Regions from separate parts of the Homo sapiens genome. Here region 1 is linked to region 2. The links are contacts of gene promoters, found by promoter capture Hi-C in blood cells and fetal thymus (Javierre and others, 2016). All regions are on one chromosome and are shown on one strand. Each heading gives the region's core, a stretch centred on a gene start or on the middle of the fragment in contact. The rest is flanking DNA. Distances are from core to core; before and after follow the strand shown. Region 1 has its middle 320 kb from the start of MME. Region 2 holds the start of PLCH1 (phospholipase C eta 1).

Region 1 (4,973 bases), core at 2,213-4,712, 990 kb before region 2:
AATGACAGGCAATAACAAATGCCAGCAAGGATGTGGAGAAAAGGGAATCCTTGTACACTGTTGCTGGGAATGTCAACTAGTACAACCACTATGGAGAATAGTTTGGAGGTTCTTCAAAAAGTAAAAATATAGCTGCCATGTGGTTCTGCAATCCCATTGCTAGGTATATCCCCAAAGAAACGAAATCAGTATATCTAAGAGATATCTGCACTTCTATGTTTCTTGCAGCATCATTTACAATAGCCAAGATTTGGAAGCAAACTTTGTGTCCATCAACAGATGAATGGATAAAGAAAATGTGGTACATATACACAAAGGAGTACTATTTATTCATGAAAAAGGATGAGATTCTTCATTTGCAACAACATGAATGATACTGGAAGTCATTATGTTAAGTGAAATAAGCCAGGTATAGGAAGACAAATTTCACATGTTCTCACTTATTTGTGGGAGCTAAACATTAAAACAATTGAGCTCATGAAGATAGAGAGTATAAAGATGGTTACCAGAGGCTTGGAAGAGTAGTAGGGGTTGTGGGGGAAAAGTGGGAATGCCTTAATGAGTACAAAAGATAGAAAGAACGAATAAGAACTACTATTTGATATTACAACAGGTTGACTATGGTCAATAACTTCATTGTACATTTAAAAATAATTAAGATTATTATTGGATTTTTTGTCACACAAAAAAATTAATGCTTGAGGGAACATATACCCCATTTACCCTGATGTGATTATTACATGTTGTATGCCTATATCAAAATATCTTAGGTACTCCATAAATATATACACCTACTATGTACCCACAGAAATTAAAAATAAATTTTTTAAAAAATATAAAGAATAAAGACAATTTAAGAAAAAGAAAAAAATACAGTGTAACTTAATTTTTTTCCAATTATGAGTGATGTTGATCACTTCTTTATATTTAAGAGCCATTATTATTATTATTGTGTGACTATTCTATTTATATTTGTGCCCATTTTTGTGTTGGAATTTTTGCCTTTTTACAAACATTATACAAATCTAAAAAAGTGTATATTACAAAATATACTGGGCAGCTATGCAATATAAAATATACAAAATATACTACTATACTAGTATACAAAATATACTATGCAACTATATAAAATAATATAAAATATACTAGAGATTGAAGCCAAAATAAAAAAGTCTCCCAGCAAAGAAAAGCCAGAGACCCCATGGTTTCATGGCAGAATTTAAATCTTTATTTAAAGAAGAAATAATACCAATTCTACTCAAGCTATTCCAAAAAATGGAGGAGTAGAAAATACTTCCAAACTCATTCTCTCAGCCAGTATTACCCCGATACCAAAAACAAAGACACATCAAAAAAAGAAAACTACAAGCCATTATCCCTTATGAACACTGATGCAAAAACTCTCAAAAACATACTAAAAAAATTAAATTCAACAACCTGTTTAAAAAGATCATCATGACCAAGTGGGATTTATCTCAGGGATAGAAGGGTGATTCAACACAAACAAATCAATCACTGCTTTCATGCTACAACAGCGGAGCTTAATTTTTTGCGACAGAGACCACGTGGCCTGTAAGTCCCAAAATATTTGCTAACGGCCAGGCGTGGTGGCTCACGCCTGTAATCCCAGCACTTTGGGAGGCCGAGGCAGGAGGATCACGAGGTCAGGATATCCAGACCATCCTGGCTAACGCGGTGAAAACCCGTCTCTACTAAAAATACAAAAAAATTAGCCGGCCTAGTGGCAGACGCCTGTAGTCCCAGCTACTCAGGAGGCTGAGGCAGGAGAATGACGTGAACCCGGGAGGCGGAGCTTGCAGTAAGCCGAGATTGCGCCACTGCACTCCAGCCTGGGCGACAGAGCAAGACTCCGTCTCAAAACAAAACAAAACAAAACAAAAAAATTTGCTAACTAGTGTTTTCCAGCAAAAATTAAAAACTACTGTTCTACATCATACCAACCATAGCCAAACTTCAGGAGTTCCAGTGAGGAGTTCATTCTTCAACAGCTGTCTGATGTTTTACATTGCTAAAGTTACACAATTCAGTTTTCATCCTCAGTGATATCAAAGAAAGCAACTGGATATTTAAAGTGCTGATTTAAATAGTGATATTTATGTCTGTGTACAGAAATTAGCATTTAAAAATCATATCTTTCTATTGAATCATAAGCTTCTTTATTGGATTTAAAAAAAAAAAAACGTAAACTGATTTTTATTGAACATACCAGAGTGCATTTATATTTCTGGGCCTGGCTTTCCCAGTGAGCAAAGAGAACAAGTTGAACACCAGGGTCACTCCCCGTATTGACATGTTTAAAAGAGCATTAAACTAAGAAAGACTATTAACAAATGACTTGGAAGGTTATTAGAATTTTTATCCTCTATAATAAAAGTCGATCTTCTCAAGTGTTTATTTTGAGATTCAATTTCAAAGGGTTTTATATAAATAATCTAGAAAGCCGGTTCGTTTCTTGCTGGAAACATTATTGTTATCACTAGAGGGAGCTGGTTTTACATAAAATTAATGTATGTAGGCCTGTATCTAGAAAAAGACAGAAAAGCACTTTGTGGTTCATGTTAAGAAAAAGAACAAAATCCTTTTCAAAATATTTTTTCTGCTAATAAATTGTACTTGTCAAGGAATTATAAACTGAAAGTTTGCTTCAAAATACTGTAATCTCTGTTCCCAAGAGAATTTTTGATACTCTAAATGTGATAGTGGAATAAACATTCTATGGGGGTATCACTTAATTTTCATATAGTAGTATTGATGTCTGTAGTCTTTTCATTGTTCTTTAAATTTATCCTACTTTAATTTTCTTTAAATTTATCCTACTTTAATTTTCTTTAAAATGGAATTTTGTCATTGTATAGTTTGAACAATATGCTAAGCAGAGTTGCAGAGTACAGAATAAGATTTTGGCTAAATTGTCTATCTATTTAATATAAAAGATATAAACATTCTGGTGTTACTTTGAAATGCCTGATTTTCAGTGAGTGCTAAAATGAAAAGAACCATTAAGTATTTGCTTTAACTTAAATACTTTCTTACATGTAAGTACTATTGTATTGATAACTGTCTCAAATTTATGTAAGTAAATTTACATAAATGTACGTAGGTCACATGCAGAGTAAACTTACGTAAGAACCAGATATTCAGCCAATAGCCAATAGCTTTGGCTAACTGGGAACTTACTAAATTCACTGTGTTTCCTTGAGACTTTTTATTTGGAACTCTAACTACTAAGTTTTAAAATAGGGCTAATTCATCTCTCTACGCTTTCTCTGATGCATGGATATCAATGCTTATAAATTATTTATAAATCTCCTTTCAAGTTGAGCAAACCTCTAATTTCAAAACAGGATTGAAATTGATAGAACATGTTTGACCAGGTGAATGGAGTTTTAATCGGTAAATTATTTCAGACAGTGAGGAACCGGCCTTTGTTAACTCATTGACCCATTTAAACCTCTGCCCACCACACACACACAAATTCTTCTTGCCAAATTCAATGATCTACATCAATTTTTAAAAAATTCAGATTATGCCCTTGCTTGATAGCATTTTTATGCTACTAAACGAAAAGATGTTTGGCATTTCTTTTATGTCATAACTTTTCACCTTTAGTCAAGTTTTTAAATTCATAATCTTGAGTAAATATCTGTGTAGCTGTTCTTGAATCAACCAAAGAAAAATAAAAATATTACTGTCTAAGTTAACGAATGTTCATTAGTTGCTCATTAATTATAATTGGACCTACCAATAATGAAGTAGAAAAAAGGGTAAGGATTTGATTTAAAAGACAGTTGTTTTTCTTTCAAAGAAAGAACCAACTGGAAAACAAAACAAATCTGACGATGGCTTTTGTTTCTTACCTATTCTGGTCTCAGTAACCAGTGGTAAACAATGAGGTTTGTTGTTGTGTCTGCTAAGAAGAATATGAACAGATATTACAAGCCACAGTAAATTGTTCAGTGGGTTTTCTCTGTAGAACTTGTTGATTTGAATCATAATGGGGTTTCAAGCAACTTGATAAACCTTTGTCAAGATTTTTAAGTGGAAGAAAAAAAATGATGAAATGTACAACTTGTAGAATTTGTTTTTCCTAGTGTGGTCCCAAATGGCGCCATCCTTTCACTCTCCCAGTGTGCTCTAATGAAGAAGGGACATAGAGGTCATTGAGGTCAACGGCGAATCAGCAAGAGCTGACAAGATGTGATTCTTGGCACTTAGAATGGCTAAATGCCACCAACCCCTCCAGACTATTTTCCAAATATTTTGCATTTTACAAAGACCAAAGACTTTGACCAAACTGTTTCTCTCTCCACTCCATTTTTAGCTCTAAATTTATACTTATAAAGCAAACTCAAACCAGGACTTCTGAATAACACGTTGTTAAGCAGTTTGAAGTGGTATGGAACCTATCCTCAAATTATGTGTAGGCCTCTCAGCCCTTAGAACTGGAAGCTGGGAAGTTGATCACTATTTTCACCTTCTAGTTGGGAGACAGTGAGGTTAAGGAGACCCAACCAAGTTAAATTCAGGCTTTTTTTTAACTTGTTGTCCCTGAATGGAGTTTTGGAGGTCTTTGAAATCTTAGAAATGCTATGTAAATTTTTATGTTATGTATATGTGTGGATATTGCTGGTATATAATGTTCATGATTTTACCAGAGTCTCAAAGGGTCCACAAAAACTTAATATGTTGAAAGCAATTAAAAAAAAACAAAAAAATTATCTTCTGGAAAATGTAAGCTTCTCCACTTAATCTTCACAGCAATTCTGTAGATTGGCTGTTACAGCCAATGGTTAATACAGATTCTAGAAACAGGCTGCCAAGATTCCAATTTCAGTTCTGCCACTTATTAGCTGTATGAACTGACTTTTTGTACCTCAGTTTCCTCATATGCAAAATGAAATAATAGTAGTACCTATTCCATAGGGTTATTATGAGGAATAAATGAGGTAATA
Region 2 (4,737 bases), core at 430-2,929:
CGTGGTGGCGGGAGCCTGTAATCCCAGATACTCGGGAGGCTGAGGCAAGAGAATAGCTTGAACCCAGGAGGCGGAGGTTGCAGTGAGCCGAGATCGCACCACTGCACTCCAGCCTGGGCGACAGAGCCAGACTCCGTCTCAAAAAAGAAAAAAAGAAAAAGAAAATGACCAGCTTGAGAAAACTGGCTTCTGTTAAGGCTTCTTGAAGCATTCTCTGCAGAAGACTTTAACCCCAAAGGTGACCAAAACGCTGAGGCAACTGAAAAAAACTACCGCCTCTTCTGGGAAATCCTTTGTTTCTTTTCATTGGCATTATACTCTGGTCCCTTTTGCAGAGCATCTCCTTGTCATAAACATGCCAATAAACAGGACATGGGTGCTGCTGGGTTGTACAAGCTCTGCTCTTCACCTGGGTTAGGAGGCACAGATTTGTTCTTGTAACGCTCGAGAACAATCACTTCACTGAATTTTCTAACTCCTTACCAGGAAGTAAATGTTTTATTCGTCTCCCCTTTTCGGGACAGAGGGGGATTTCAATTGCTGCCCTAATAACTAATCTCTCACCATTTTCTTCTGTCCGTGATCAAAACGGTAACAAGGGAAGGGAAAAGTTGGGTTTTTTTTTTTAATTTAGTTGGTTATTGCTTTAATGCTGAACTCTCAACGTCAAAATGTGATCACAAATTGATTCGCAGAAGGAAACAAATAGAAAAAGCCTCGGGAAGGAGGGGAGAGGGCGTCGCAGACGCTCAACAGGGAACTGGGTTTAGGGGCTCGCGGGGTGGCGTCTCGGACCCGCAGCTCAGTCGCCAAGGAAACGCCGCGCAGGCGCAGAGCGTGCCGCCGCGGGGCCGGGGTTTGCCTCCACCACCCCGCGCCGCTCGGGCGCTCTTGGTTCTTCCCAGGAAAGGGCAATGGAGTATATCCTCCTCGCGCTGAGCACACCTAGTCTCTAAGAGGTCCTGAGCAGGGTCACCGGGCGCAGGAAAAGCTGTGAGACTCCCCAAGTGTAACGGACGCTGCACTCCCCTTGCTGGGAAACGCGGACCTGCTCTCCTGGCGGCGTCTGGCGGTCAGAGAGAGGGTCCCGGGACCCCGCGTGAGGGTGAAGCATCCTGCAGCGAGGCTGGACCTTCCACCGGGCGAAACGCCACCCACCACCACCGCAAGGGACCCGAGAGTTACATTATTTCGCGGACACACACACCCACCCTCATCCTTCTGAATTATGGGACCCTGAAGAGCGGCCGTGGCCAGTTCCCCGCACGGGGCCTTAGGGGATCCCCACGCACAGCACTCACAGTCCTAAACAGGCGTGTGCCGGCTGTGGCTGCCGAGAAAGGAACTTGGGCCACCTGCTCACTCGCTCATCGGACTGGCGTACCAGTTCTCTTTTTCCTGCACACCCCCTTCTCTCCTGGGCCCCTTCTTCCCCCGAAAGCACTGACCTCCTCAGCTTTGAGTGTTCAGTAGCTGAAGGACTCCTCGGAGTCCGTGGCACAAGGAGCCACCTCCGAAGTGCTGGGGTGATGAGTTATTGGCCCCTGTGACTCCAACTCCAAACCCCTGCCAAGGGCCAGAAAAGCCCCCCTAGAAGAGCACTTCTCCCCACTAGCCAGCAGAAGCCCCAGACGAGCGGGGAAGAGCAGGGCGCCGCCGCCACAACCTGCTTTCTCATTCAAATCCTCACGCTCACACAGGAGCCCCCCTCCCTCTCGGCCCCGCAGCTTCCGAGGAAATCAGGAACTGGAGTTGCGGAGAGCGGACTGGAGCGCCTGCTGCCTCCTCTGGCCCGGGCGGGATGGGTGTACGGAACCCTAGGGCTGCACGTGGAACCCCAAGGCTGCACCTGGAACCCTTGGCTTACACTCTCCTGCGGGGCTCCCCGCTTGGCAAGGGCCAGAAGCACTGGGAATGAAGTACTTTTACTCCCCCGCAAGTTTCAAAAGTTTCGAAACCCAGGGTAACCCCTCGGGGCTGTAGCCAGAGGGCCTCGGTGGTGGGGGGTAAAGGAGTTGGAGAAACAAAGTTGGAAGTGAAGGGCGCAGGGAATGGGAACTGCGTGCAACTTGCACCAAAGTGAAAAGTGTTCTCAAACGTCCGTCTTACCTCCTTTAAAAAAAAAAAATTTCTAAGAATATAGCATCTGTCGATGCCGCAAATTAAAGAGATCTACTCTGAGTGAATGGGAACTGCGTGCAACTTGCACCAAAGTAAAAAGTGTTCTCAAACGCCCGTCTTACCTCCTTTAAAAAAAAAAAATTTCTAAGAATATAGCATCTGTCGATGCCGCAAATTAAAGAGATCTACTCTGAGTGAAGTGCAACTAAAATTGAGAGCGTGTAAATGGTAACACTTTGCTTTTATTTACCCCCAGTCTCTTCATTTGGAAATGCTACTCCTTGGCATTAACAGGCCACTTATTCACTTAGATCCGTTTAGTGGCTGGTTGACTCAAGCGGGCAACCTGCCGGGAGTAAGAAGGCGGCGGTGGCAGAGGAAAGCTTGCACGAAGCAGGCACTCAAGTGTTGATGAAACGATGAAATCTACTGAATGCACTGAAAGGATGAGTGACCAGCTTGGGGCGGATGCTGGAACCGCCGCTGGCCTAGACGGCCGCGGTGTGATCCGGCTTCTGGATTCCAGGATTTACATTTATCAGCCTTCATTCAACCTGCCCTATTGTTAGTTCAAAGCCTGGCTGGGAAGGAGTGGGGACGCAGCTCTTCACTCACCTTTCAGTTTAAAATAATCCTCCAATAAGAATGTCCTAGGAAAGCTGGCAGCATGGGGTTGGCAGGGATTTTCTGGGCTTAGTGACAACATAAACTAAAGTCATTTTCTTTTTTCATGCGTGAATTTGCCCAGGAAGTTACAAACGAGTAAGTTACAAATGAGTGCCTGAGATTGGAGCTCAGGGCCTTGGCTGCCTGTTCTCTTTGACAGACAGTGTGGAGGGTGGTAGCACTGTGACCTCTCAGCGCAAGATCTAGGGTTTCACCTTTTCATCCCACTTAGCCGATACCATAGAAACAACCCATTTGTATTATTCAATTCAACAGAGGCAATTACAATGTCACAGCAAAGCACCATGGGCAAGAAGAAACTTTGTCCTGAAAACAATCCTAGACTCTCAGAAAAAAGAAAAAAGCCACCAGAATACCCACTTGAATTTCTTCCTGCCAATAGTACCAGGAAGAAATCAATTTGGAAAAAATGTAGGTAAGGTCCTTTGCCTCTATAGAAAGAAACCTCCCCAAATTTACTTGTTTTTGTTTTTGTTTTTTTGCATGCCCATACACAAGCCTCAATTTATAAGAAATTAAGTCATTAACCCTCTGCCTCCAAACTGCTTTATATTTTGTAAACAAGCTTGTTGGAGATTTGTTTTGCTGGTAACCTCCATGGTGAATAGAAAAGCCAAAAAAAAAAAAAAAAAAAAAAAAACCACCAAGATAATCCCTCAACAGCAGCAGTTCACCCCCTAACCTCCGGTGTTTGTCTTTCTTGAGTCTGAAAAAATGCAGATGCACATGTTGAAATAAACTCAGACACAAAGTTCATAATAAGAGCACTTGTTTGCTATGCATTCTTTATTTTGATAGTTTTAATCAACTCCCATAATTTTGTAAACTTTTAAATTTTTAAATTGTGTGATATTTCAAACCTACCAAAAACAGGATATATACCATGTAATACTCCTGCTCCCCCCAGCCCTTCTTTTTTAAATAAAGCATTACAGATATAGCTAAACCCCAACTCCTGACTCGTTACCCCCACCCCTTCCCAAAGGTAATAATTCTGAAGTTGGTATGAATCATAATTATGCATGTTCTTAAATGTTTAGGACATTTATACATCCATAATCTTTTAATGTAGCTTTTCTCTCCAAGTCGTTTTAACATTATTTATCTGAGAAAAATCACTAAAACAATTAATTAATTAATTGGAGAAAATCACTAAAAACAAGAAAATGTGTTACATTGCTAAGTTTTTAGAAGCAGGACAGAACTATTTTTCCTGCTTGTGACAATCAGAGTATGGAATAATAACAAAGGGATTAGACAGTGGGTAATAAGCAGCCTCTCTAGGTTACACAAACTCTTCCATGGTTACCAAAGAATAAATAGAAAAACAAAACAAATAATACCCTCCTCTTTCACTGGTTAAAGGGGAACTGGAGAAAATGAGATCTTCATTAAAACTTCTTTGGGCAGGTAAGACAAACATCCTACATGGTAGTAAAGTACCTTTTCTAGAGGATCTCTTGGTCATGCAAGCTATGATCTTTTAGTAAGGATTTACCACTTTTCCAAGTATAAAGAACTCCTGCTGGTAGCTCAATACAAGGTTGAAATCCGCCTGGCTGAAAAGTCTGGGGTTGAATTAGCCCTGCCTCTTCAAGCACAGGGACATCCATCTGTACAGTAGTTACAAAAATCTTTTGCTGTGATTCTTTGACTTAATGTCCTCCCAGCATTAAAAGTGCTAAGAAAGCATCAATTTTTCTTAAATGCCATTGAATGGTGAAAGGCATCCTTCCCAACCCCCACCCTCTTCATTTCCTAAGCGATGACTCTCATTAATTATACTGGCACACCACTGCCCAGCCTCCCTTCTAAATAGCTGCCAGATTTCTACATATCATCTCTGCCTTGATACAGAATGTGCACTGACACCAGGATCACAGAAAATCCTGTAAGAGGTGCCTGATACACAGTAAAATGATTGATGTG

Evidence for each region. Contacts are between HindIII fragments. The CHiCAGO score rates a contact against its expected background, and 5 or more counts as called.
Region 1: a fragment that was not itself captured here is called in contact with the fragment with the promoter of PLCH1 in region 2 in 1 of 17 cell types (M2 macrophages); the score reaches 5.4 in M2 macrophages.

The regions. Positions count from the first base shown.
Region 1 is chr3:154,755,973-154,760,945 of GRCh38, forward strand. No RefSeq gene overlaps it. Among named protein-coding and RNA genes, the nearest start is that of MME, 320 kb to the right of the region's middle. The HindIII fragment of the contact is 2,585 bases long and covers 2,171-4,755 here.
Region 2 is chr3:155,743,392-155,748,128 of GRCh38, forward strand. PLCH1 (phospholipase C eta 1) reads right to left here and starts at 1,680. Exons shown (of 23, transcript NM_014996.4): 1 at 1,449-1,680. RefSeq lists enhancers at 917-1,538, 1,433-1,642. The HindIII fragment of the contact is 4,475 bases long and covers 1-2,502 here.